Regions from separate parts of the Homo sapiens genome. Here region 2 is linked to region 1. Evidence: promoter capture Hi-C in human tissues and cell types (Jung and others, 2019). All regions are on one chromosome and are shown on one strand. Each heading gives the region's core, a stretch centred on a gene start or on the middle of the fragment in contact. The rest is flanking DNA. Distances are from core to core; before and after follow the strand shown.

Evidence for each region. Contacts are between HindIII fragments. The study calls those that stand out against the background at their distance.
Region 2: a fragment that was not itself captured here is called in contact with the fragment with the promoter of GPRC5A in region 1 in 1 of the 25 tissues and cell types used here (pancreas).

What each region holds. Positions count from the first base shown.
Region 1 is chr12:12,889,217-12,893,793 of GRCh38, reverse strand. GPRC5A (G protein-coupled receptor class C group 5 member A) reads right to left here and starts at 2,232. Exons shown (of 4, transcript NM_003979.4): 1 at 2,130-2,232. The HindIII fragment of the contact is 16,829 bases long and covers 1-4,577 here.
Region 2 is chr12:13,141,608-13,146,599 of GRCh38, reverse strand. No RefSeq gene overlaps it. Among named protein-coding and RNA genes, the nearest start is that of GSG1, 40 kb to the right of the region's middle. The HindIII fragment of the contact is 4,042 bases long and covers 1-3,310 here.

The sequences.
Region 1 (4,577 bases), core at 983-3,482:
CAAGAGCGAGACTCCATCTCAAAAAAACGAAAACAAAAACAAAACAAAACAAAACAAAAATCACTTTATTTACAGAAAGAGGCTATAGGCCATATTTGGTCCATGGACCATAGTTTGCCATCTCTACTCTATTATGATTGCTTAATAGGAACTATGGTCCATGGTCCAAATGGAACATTTGCCAAAAATGAGCATATTTAGAATACAAAGACAAATCTGGAATTAGAAAATAAGAAATGTGCAGACCATATAGTCTGACCACAGTGCAATAAAAATGAGAATAAAAGAAGCAAACACCCTGAACTACTCAGGAAGTCAAAGATTCCTCAAGCAAAAATACTCCTCAATTTATTGTTTACTATACCACCATATTAATTCCTCAGCTTAATCTTGGGACTTTAAATAGTAGTGGACCCAGAATGAGAAGAATAAAATCACGCCGTCAAAATTGTTCTTCATACCCTGTTGTCTTCGATTACCATTCAAGACTAGAATACAAAAAAGCCAGTTCTAAAGGGAACTTCCAAGGCGACGTGTGCAGATGGAGAGGGGCCAGAATCGAAACACAGGAGGGGAAACTGGGGGCCTCCCCAAGACCCCTATGAGGAACTCAGGCCCAGCCCCTTGCCTGATCACAGTTCCATGTTCCTGCGGAGCTGGGAGGAGAAATCAGTCTTCCTGACTCAAGGTTGAGAGCTCTTCCCGGGAAACCAAAGGGTTCTGCTCATTCCATTCTGCCCTTGAGGCACTCACCTCTCCACGCCCTTGGAGAGGTCCCTTGTTTCCCACGTAGCGCCTCTCCCGGCCCTTCCTTCCCCTCATTCCTTCCCTCACCTAGCAGACACCGGCATGCAAACCTGGAGGGTGTGTGCCCCCTCCGCCCTCACCCCTCCCGTGGTCCCTAGCCCATTGTGTCTGAAGTAGCTGAAGTGTTCCCCTTCAGGAATGAACCCACAGCAGTGGCTGATTCGGCCGAACCCTTCAACAGGTGTGGTGTTTACACAAGCCTCTGAGGAGACAATCAGGAATGGAAAGAAGTCAGGAATGGAAAGTCCTTCAAATTCCTTGATTCTGAGCAGGTTTCAGCTGTTAGCTAGCCTTTCCCATGGATGTTTAAAGCTATCTGTGGCCGGGCGCGGGGGCTCACACCTGTAATCCCAGCACTTTGGGAGGCTGAGGCGGGCAGATCACCTTAGGTCGGGAGTTTGAGACCAACCTGACCAACATGGGGAAACCCCGTCTCTACTAAAAATACAAAATTAACCAGGAGTGGTGGTGCATGCCTGTAATCCCAGCTACTCGGGAGTCTGAGGCAGGAGAATCGCTTGAACCCGGGAGGTGGAGGTCGCGGTGAGCTGAGATCGCAACATTGTACTCCAGCCTGGGCAACAAGAGTGAAACTCCATCTCAAAAAATAAAATAAAGCTATTTGCCAGCCTTCCCCATGGATGTTTAAGGGACCAGATGGAACAGCATCTATGCTATTCCCAAATCCTATCCATAAAGTCGGTAGTGGAAGGTGCACTCTCAGCGCACATTCAACTTTCATCTGTCCCAGGTTTCTGAGCAACTCAAGGCACACCAGAGTGGAACTGACCGCCCACACATCAAGAGAAAAGGGATGGGCTTCTAGATCTAATTCCCAAAACTCAGAAGGGCTTTTTGCAGCATCTGGGTAAAATAGTAGCTGTCACCGTGTCCTCCCTCCTGCCCCTGCCCCTTGTTTCCCACTCCCCCTCCACTCCCAGTACCTTCGGGTCCTCTGAGATCTTTCTCCCTCTATTCTTTTCCTGCAGAGTGATCCCAGAGCTGCTCACCTCCTGCCTGGCCGGATTCCATCTACTCAAAGTTTGTAGAATGTGTCCGAGCAGAAACTATTACCCTGATTATCTCTTTGCTCTCTGCCTCTATCTTAGCCTAGGAAACCCGCAAAGGGGAAAAAAAAAAAAAAAAATCTGAGTTGTTAAACTAGAGGAACTGTTTCCTAGGGAATTTTTTTCTCATAGCCAACTGTATTCCATTACCAGGATTTCTCTCCTCTTCTATCCCACCCCTCCCAACGCCCCGCTCTCCCCAGACGATTTAAATCCGGAGGCCCCAGCGCTCTGGGCTCCTGGCGCCTCACTTACCCTAGTGCCAAGGCGTTGGCCGTGAACTTGGTGCTGCTTCCCGCGCGCAAGAGGGCAGCAGGCGAGCTCCTCAGTGCTGGGGGAGACCTTGGACAGCTATCCCGCCCTCGCACTCTGAGCAGTTGTTATAAAGGCGGCCCTCGCCGGAGGGAGGGAACGAGCGAGGGGTGAGCAGAGGGACAAGGAGGGGGAGGGTCGAGGGAGAGGACACGCCTATTCCAGTTCCACGGCACTTCATGCTGTTATGAAAATAAAGTCCCCGTGCCAGGGAATGACCCAAAAACCGTCTGACGTCAGAGGCACAGTCACCCCTGGAAGCTGGGCGGGGGTGACCACCCGGCCCTGCCCAGCGCATCGGACTCCTCCGAGACGTGCTCACGCGCTGGTCCCAGGGCGCCGGCTACGAGAGGGGAGCCGGAGCAGACCAGCTCCTTACGGGCCCCGCCAGCTGTCACCTCCCGGGGGAGCCACACCCGCCTCCCCGCAGGCACTCGGGTCCACCCGGGGCAAGGGCCCAGCCCGCGAGATTGCAGCAGCTCCGCCGTCAAGTCCAGCGGGACAAGCCAGCCTTCCTCCACTTTCTTTGACCTTAGCTTAGCCTTTCTCTCCATCACTCTCCCCCAGCCACTGCCGTATGGGAAGCCAGGCTTCAGAAAAAGGAGGCAGCCACCTTCTCAGGGCTCCCCAGCCAAAGCCACGTGAAAGCCAAGGAAAACTTCCCCCACCAGGTCCGTAGTTAGCTCAGCAGCTCCACCTGTCAGAGTCTAGACAGGCACCATTAGTGCTGCCCTGGGGCTGAGAGATCAGTATCTCTCCTTTCCTAACTGCCTCTCCTAAAGCCTCGACAATGCAGGCTGATTGAACGGGGGCGCCAGATGAAATTATGAAATGAAGGAATTTGCTTTGGTGCCTGGTTTCCCCTCCCTCCACTGCCCACTCCTCTTCCAGGATCAAGCCAATCGGACCGAAACTCGTCTTTGTTTACGTGTGGAACGATCCTGGAGTGGCTGCCCGCCTGTGTCGGGGCTCAAGCCAGGTTCTACCCCATGCCACGGGGAGGCAGGAGGGACTCTGTTTTTAAAGTGGTTATCAGCGCGCTTGGTAAACTAATCTGGATTATTCTGCATATGAAGAAATGGGGGAAGGCCCAGGGCTCCCCAGCTTTCTCTTCACTTCTCCCCACACCCCAAGTCTCCAGAGCCTAAAGTGCTTTTAAAATGTGACCTACTGGAGACTGTGACCCCACCATTGTTAGGTTTTTATTTCACTCCCAAAAAACCACAGGCAGTGCCTTGAGTGTTGGAACACTTTGAGGTATGCAGCCCAGGGGTCTGTGAGTCCACCCATTTCACACCTAAGACTCCCAGGGGTGTGTGTGGCAGAGTGGGGGTGGGTACTGAGAGACTGGTGGGACTGCAAATGACAGTGCTTTATAGTGTGTGCCATCCGCTAAGTCAGGGCTTCTCTCCGGACCCCAGCGTTCTCGTCTGTTCAAGAAGTTGAACTAGACTACCATTGTACAATAGAACTATAATTCAAGCCACAAACATAAGCCACATTTGTTTTTTATTTTTTGTGTGTTTTTTCTTTTTTAGACAAGGTCTCGCCGTCACCCAGGCTGGAGTACAATGGCACAATCGGCTCACTGCAGCCTCAATCACCCAGGCTCAAGCTATCCTTCCACCTCAGCCTCCCAAGCACCCAGGACCACATGTGTGCATTACCACACCTGGCTAATTTTTTTGTTTGTTTCTTGTTTGAGACACTCTCACTTTGTCACCCAGGCTGGGGTGCAGTGATACCATCATGGCTCACTGTAAGCCTTTACCTCCCAGGCTCAAGCAGTCTTCCCGCCTCAGCCTCCCAAGTAATTCTTTTTATTATTTATAGAGACAAGGTCTCGCTGTGTTGCACATGCTGGTCTCAAACTCCTGGGTTCATGCCATCCTCCAGCCTTGGCCTTCCAAAGTGCTAGGATTACAGGTGGGAGCCACCACACCTGGCCCACATATGTCATGTTAAATTTCTAGCCACATTAAAAGAAGTACAAAGAAACAGGAAAATTAATTTTAATAACACTGTATATTTTTTACCCAAATATGATCCCAAATATGATCATTTCAACATGTAATCAATATTTTTAAAAATATTAAGGGGCTATTTTACTTCTTTGGTTTCCAACTATATCCTCAAAAACCCAGTGTGTCTTTTATATTTAAAGCACCTGTCAGTGTGGACCAGCCACATTTCCATTGCTCAAAAAGTGTGTGTGGCTTGTGGCTACCACACTGGATAGTGAGGACTAGTTGTCCCTGGTGGCTCTTCCAGCACGGAGTCTGAATCACCATGTCTAGGGTGAGTTTCATGACATCGAGCAAAAGACGTCAAGTCTGAGGATGGTGAAAGAACAAAGATGATGTGGTTTTGGGGATCCTACCCTATCTCTAC
Region 2 (4,992 bases), core at 40-2,539, 250 kb before region 1:
CTGAGAGAAAGCTCTGCCTCCAACTTCTGAGGTCAGTTCTCCTTCATATTTGTGCCTGTTCCTCATGGAAGGGAAGAAGGAAAGAGATACCCGCTGACATTTCAATATTTTCCCCTAGAACATTTGACTAAGTCTTCCCCAGATTCCTCTTCCCTATGGACCTGTAGCCTTTGTATTCTAGCCCAGTATCTCCAGAATCCTAACCTTTCCTTCCACTCCTTTGTCCACATGGCTTGTTTCTTTTGAAAAACCTTCACATCTCCCTAAACAAGAATGGTTGCCCGCCAGCAACAAGGAAGCGTTGCTGTCCCTCAAAAAGGGTCTGGAAAGGCTGGTCTATGGGACAGAAAGAAAATCTGTCCTGTGATGAAGACATGTGAGGGCAGACACCAACCAAGAGCCAAGGGCAGGCACACTGCCTCCCATGAGGAGGGAGGGGAGGGAGGAAAAAGGAAAGGAAGGGAGGGAGGGAGGGAGGGAGAAAGGGCAGGAAAGGAAGGAGGAAGGGAGGAAAGACACAGGGAGAGAGGAAAGGAGGGAGGGAGGTAGGGAAGGAAGGGACTTCCCTTCCCTGGGGAGGATTACCTTGATGGATAGTTACATCTGATATGAGGATTTGGAGACCTCAGACCATACTCAGGGCCTGCCAGTAGCCTTTGAAAAGTTTTTCTATAGAATGAGTCAATAATACATTCTATTAATGACCTTGATGGATATTTACATCTGATATGAGGATTTGGAGACCTCAGACCATACTCAGGGCCTGCCAGTAGCCTTTGAAAAGTTTTTCTTATAAAATGAGTCAATAATACATTCTATTAATGACCTTGATGGACATTCTGTGCTGTTTTGTTTTTTCAGCCCTAAGTCCCTTAAAAATGTTCTGCTGAGTGGTCCTGATATCCATCCCACTTTATCTCTCTCCACTCCCAAGGGGGATCCTCTACCCCAGTGAAGTCACCTTGTCTGATCTTATTACTGTCTTATCTCACTGTCTTTTGTTAGAATTATGTATCAGTCTGTCTCTCAAACTACAATATAAACCTAAAGACTAATGTACTAGATTTCCTATTTGTCCCTCCAGGTCCACTTTCCACCTTCTCCATCCTGCCCTTGGGAGGATGAACTCTTCCGTTCCCCACCAACCCACCTTGGGTCCCTTGCACCTGTGGCTGCTGGTGGGTGTGACCAATGGGAGGTGCAGATGAAAGATTGGAGGATGATAAGAGAGTCCAGGTATTTATTCCCTCCTGCCAGGCTGTGCTTTAAGCAGTGGTTGTGTTCTTCTACTAAATGCCATAGCTCCTATCCGATGTCCCCTCTCCAACAGCCACAGTGCAGATCTGGTAGCCACTCCTTCCCTGTGCCCGTTCAGGCTGAGAGATGTAAGGATTTCCCCGTTGTTAATCCCTGCATACTGCACCATCCCTTCCTGGTTCTCAGACTTAACCCACAGCTTTGTAAAGTGTCCACTCATTAAATCCCCTGTCATGTATTTATTCATTATGGATTATTCACTTAGTGTGAAGCTGACACCGTGCTAGGCACACGCCAGTTTCATGGTGGACATGAGCCCTGTGTCACTTCTCCCTCCTTCCTGCTAGGGCCCTGGAACCCCAGCCCCAGCCCTAGAGAGGCGCCTCCTACCCAATTCTTTTCCCTTTGCTAATTCTACTGAAGGTGATTGATATATCTTTGGGTTTAGGCTTAGAAATCTCTCTTACAATGTAAATATGGCTTGTAGAAGAAGTACATTCTTATCTTGCTCATTATGGAAGTGAATGAGCTTATCAAACTTGTTGGAAAGAGCGGGTAAATATAGCATATTTTGAGAGCCTGCCATTTACTTGCCATTATTGAAGTGTTACTGCTTCTGTGAATCCCTCAAGACAGTGCAGTAGATGTTGCTTTAGGTTCTGAAGAGGGAGGGGAAGCTTGGTCATGGCAGTACTAAGGAGGGCGCTGAGGGTGATGAGTGCAGGGCTGTGCAGACAGGAGAGTAAGTGGAGGGGATTGTGCCCAAAGATAGGGAAAGACCCTGAAAGGAAACTGGATTCATTCACATATTTGTGCAGGGCTGGTCTGGCCCACCCACTTCCTTCCTCCTCCTCCTCCTCCCTGCCTGCCATTACTTCTCTACATGAACCACTACTTCCTCCTCTTCTTTTCCTGCTGTTTTTACTCATATATGTACAGTTCAGGTTACACAGGAAGCCCATGCTCACTATTGCCTAAAAAAAGATGCCAGGTACCTCTTATGTAACATCCAAACACCAGAGGCTCTGGGAAAAAATTAAGGAATCTGAGAAAGTAATTCCATAAGAGCCCTGATATTTCTAGCTCTGCCTGGAATGAGTGAATGTCATGTGGATGGAACCCTAAGAGGTAGGATATCTCCATGTTATGTGCTCATGGAGGGCTACTGTGATCACAAATTGGGACAGCCTCTCCTTTCTCCAGTGTTTAGATTAGAGCCAGTAAGAATCAGATCACAGAGATCATGCCTATGAGTATGGAGTATGGGGCTTAAGGACTCTAGAGGAGCCCCTGCCACCATGACATGATTCTCTGAGGCCCCTGGGCCTCATTGCCACCAGGGATGGGGGATAAGCAAGGGTATGTCAGTTCGCTGATCACAGGTACAGTGCTGTACTCTTGATAGTGGGATTTGTGGCAGAGGCTGCTAGTTGCCTACTGCAGTTTCTCTCTATTCTCATCATGGCAGCTGGAGAAATCACAATATTTCCCAGCCTCCACTAAGCTCTGGCCAATGTGCTATAAGCAGAAGCAACATGTGGTGCTTCCGGGAAATCTCTTTATAAGTCAGTTGTCAGATGCCATTTTTCCCCTCCTTCATTGTTCCTTCTTTCTCCTGCTTAGAATGTGGATGTGATGGCTGGAGTTTGAGCAGCCACCTCAGACTATTAGGTAGAAGCCACATGCAGAGGGTAAGGGTGTTAAGACTGAAATCTGAATCCCTGACAGTTTGTATGATCATATCAGCCCTGGACTGCTTATCTCTAGACCTCTTTTATTTAAAAAGAAAATAAATTTCTACTTTGTCTATAACACTATTATTTTGGTTTCTTTGTTATATGTGACCTGATCTGATTCTAATTGATAAAAAAAATCTCTCCAGGCTTTAGGTAGGACACGTAAGTTATCTTAAATAAATTCTTGCTCAGAAATTCCACTGTCATTTCCTTAATTTTTTCCAGAGGTGTCTCAATATGGAAGTCACTTTCTCTTTCTTTCTAGGGAAGTGGAGGCAATATTTCCATGGTCCTTGAAGATGTGTATTTCATGGTCTAAATGACAAAGGAGAAAATGGAATATCATTCAAGTCCCCATCCTGGTTCAAGGGTTCCCTGGGGGCAGCTGTGCCACAGTGTAACTATTAAACAGAAACATAAGACCCACCTACATTTAGAACCAACCTAGAGATTAATAGTAATTTGACGTCTCCAGATTACTGGGTGATCCTTAGATAAAAGACGCTCAGGAAACAGAAACACATACGTGTCTTCAGCTAGAAAACAACACTCAGCGAGTCAGAGCCCACACAACACAATTGCGTTGGAGAATGATAGATCTGGCCATTTCGGGAAGTAGTTGGCAGTGGAGGGAAGTGGCAAAGGAAGAGGAGAGAGGCTGGAGGGTGGGGCTGGCAGGGAGTGGACACAGTGTTCCTGACCACCCTTTCCTCCAGCTGTGCCCATCATAGGGTGTGCTTTTGGTCCCTGCATGGTCTCCAATGCCATCATCACTGCCCCCATCACTGCCCCAAACGTAAACTCCAGTTTATTCTCTGAACCAGCCATGTTCTTCCAGAGCAACAAGCCTTCGTTCATGCTGTTCCCCATGTTTAGGAAGCTCTTAAACTTCCACCAGTGCAAATAATACCTCCCCTGCCTTCCAAAATTTCCTCAGGCAGAGTTAGACCACTTCTCCTCTACACTTCCAAAGCACTTTGTCTTCAAGTAAATTTCAATCTTTAGGGACAGCCAAGGGGCTGCATCATATGCATGCTTAAGTTGCATTAATTTAACTGGGCATGCTCAGTAAACAGAAAAGAAAAGAAAGAGAAAGAGATCTCTTTATTCCCCATCCTCTAAAAAATCAACCTTATACATCATTTTTATAAAAAACTTTTTAAAAGGAGGTTCTAGCTAAAAACAAAGGAAGCTATTTAGAATCGATTTATGGGATTTTTGAGGGAGGAGTTTTCTGGGCTGTTTGTCATCTCCTTTTCTGTGCTGACTTTGGACTGAGTCTGAACACGACGTGACTCCTCTGCACAGCATCCGGGGATGGCTTTTTGGAGTGTCTCCCTTTTCTCAGCTGTGAGCTTCGGAAGGGCAGGAACTGGTGATATTTACCTGGGGATCTTCTGGGCCTAGCACAGTGCCAAGCTCGCAATTAGTGTTCAAGAAATGTTTGTTGGAAGAAAAGTTGAATGATTCCAGTGTTTCCCACTGGCTGTACCATAGTCAGAATCTGAAGGAAGCTGTTTCACCCAGCGTACCTCTACCACAGCCTTTGCAAACTGTCATCCAACCCCATCTCTGAAGACACCTAACCCAAGCTACTCACTTTCCAAAGCGGCCCACGTCACTGCAGATATGTGCCATTGTCAGCAGACAGGAGCATGCAAGATGCCCATCACGGTGCCATGATCACAAGAAGCTTAAGTGACTTCTGCTGCTGCTGCCACTACTGATGATGAGTCAGTAATGGAATCAGAAGCCTTATGTTCTGAATTAATTACACTGGCTTTGTGTCATCAGGGCTTGGGAAACTGTCAGGTATTAAGGGCCCATTCCATTCTCAGCCCTGCTCCTGAGAAGTCAATCTTTCGAACCCCTCAGTTCTCCAGAGATCAGCCTTCTGAAATCCTCAGAATGGCTATGAACCTGGCAGTAATAATGCAGTGGAAGGGGAAAAAAACTGGCATCTGACAACTGTCTTATAAAGAGATTTCCTGGAAGTGCT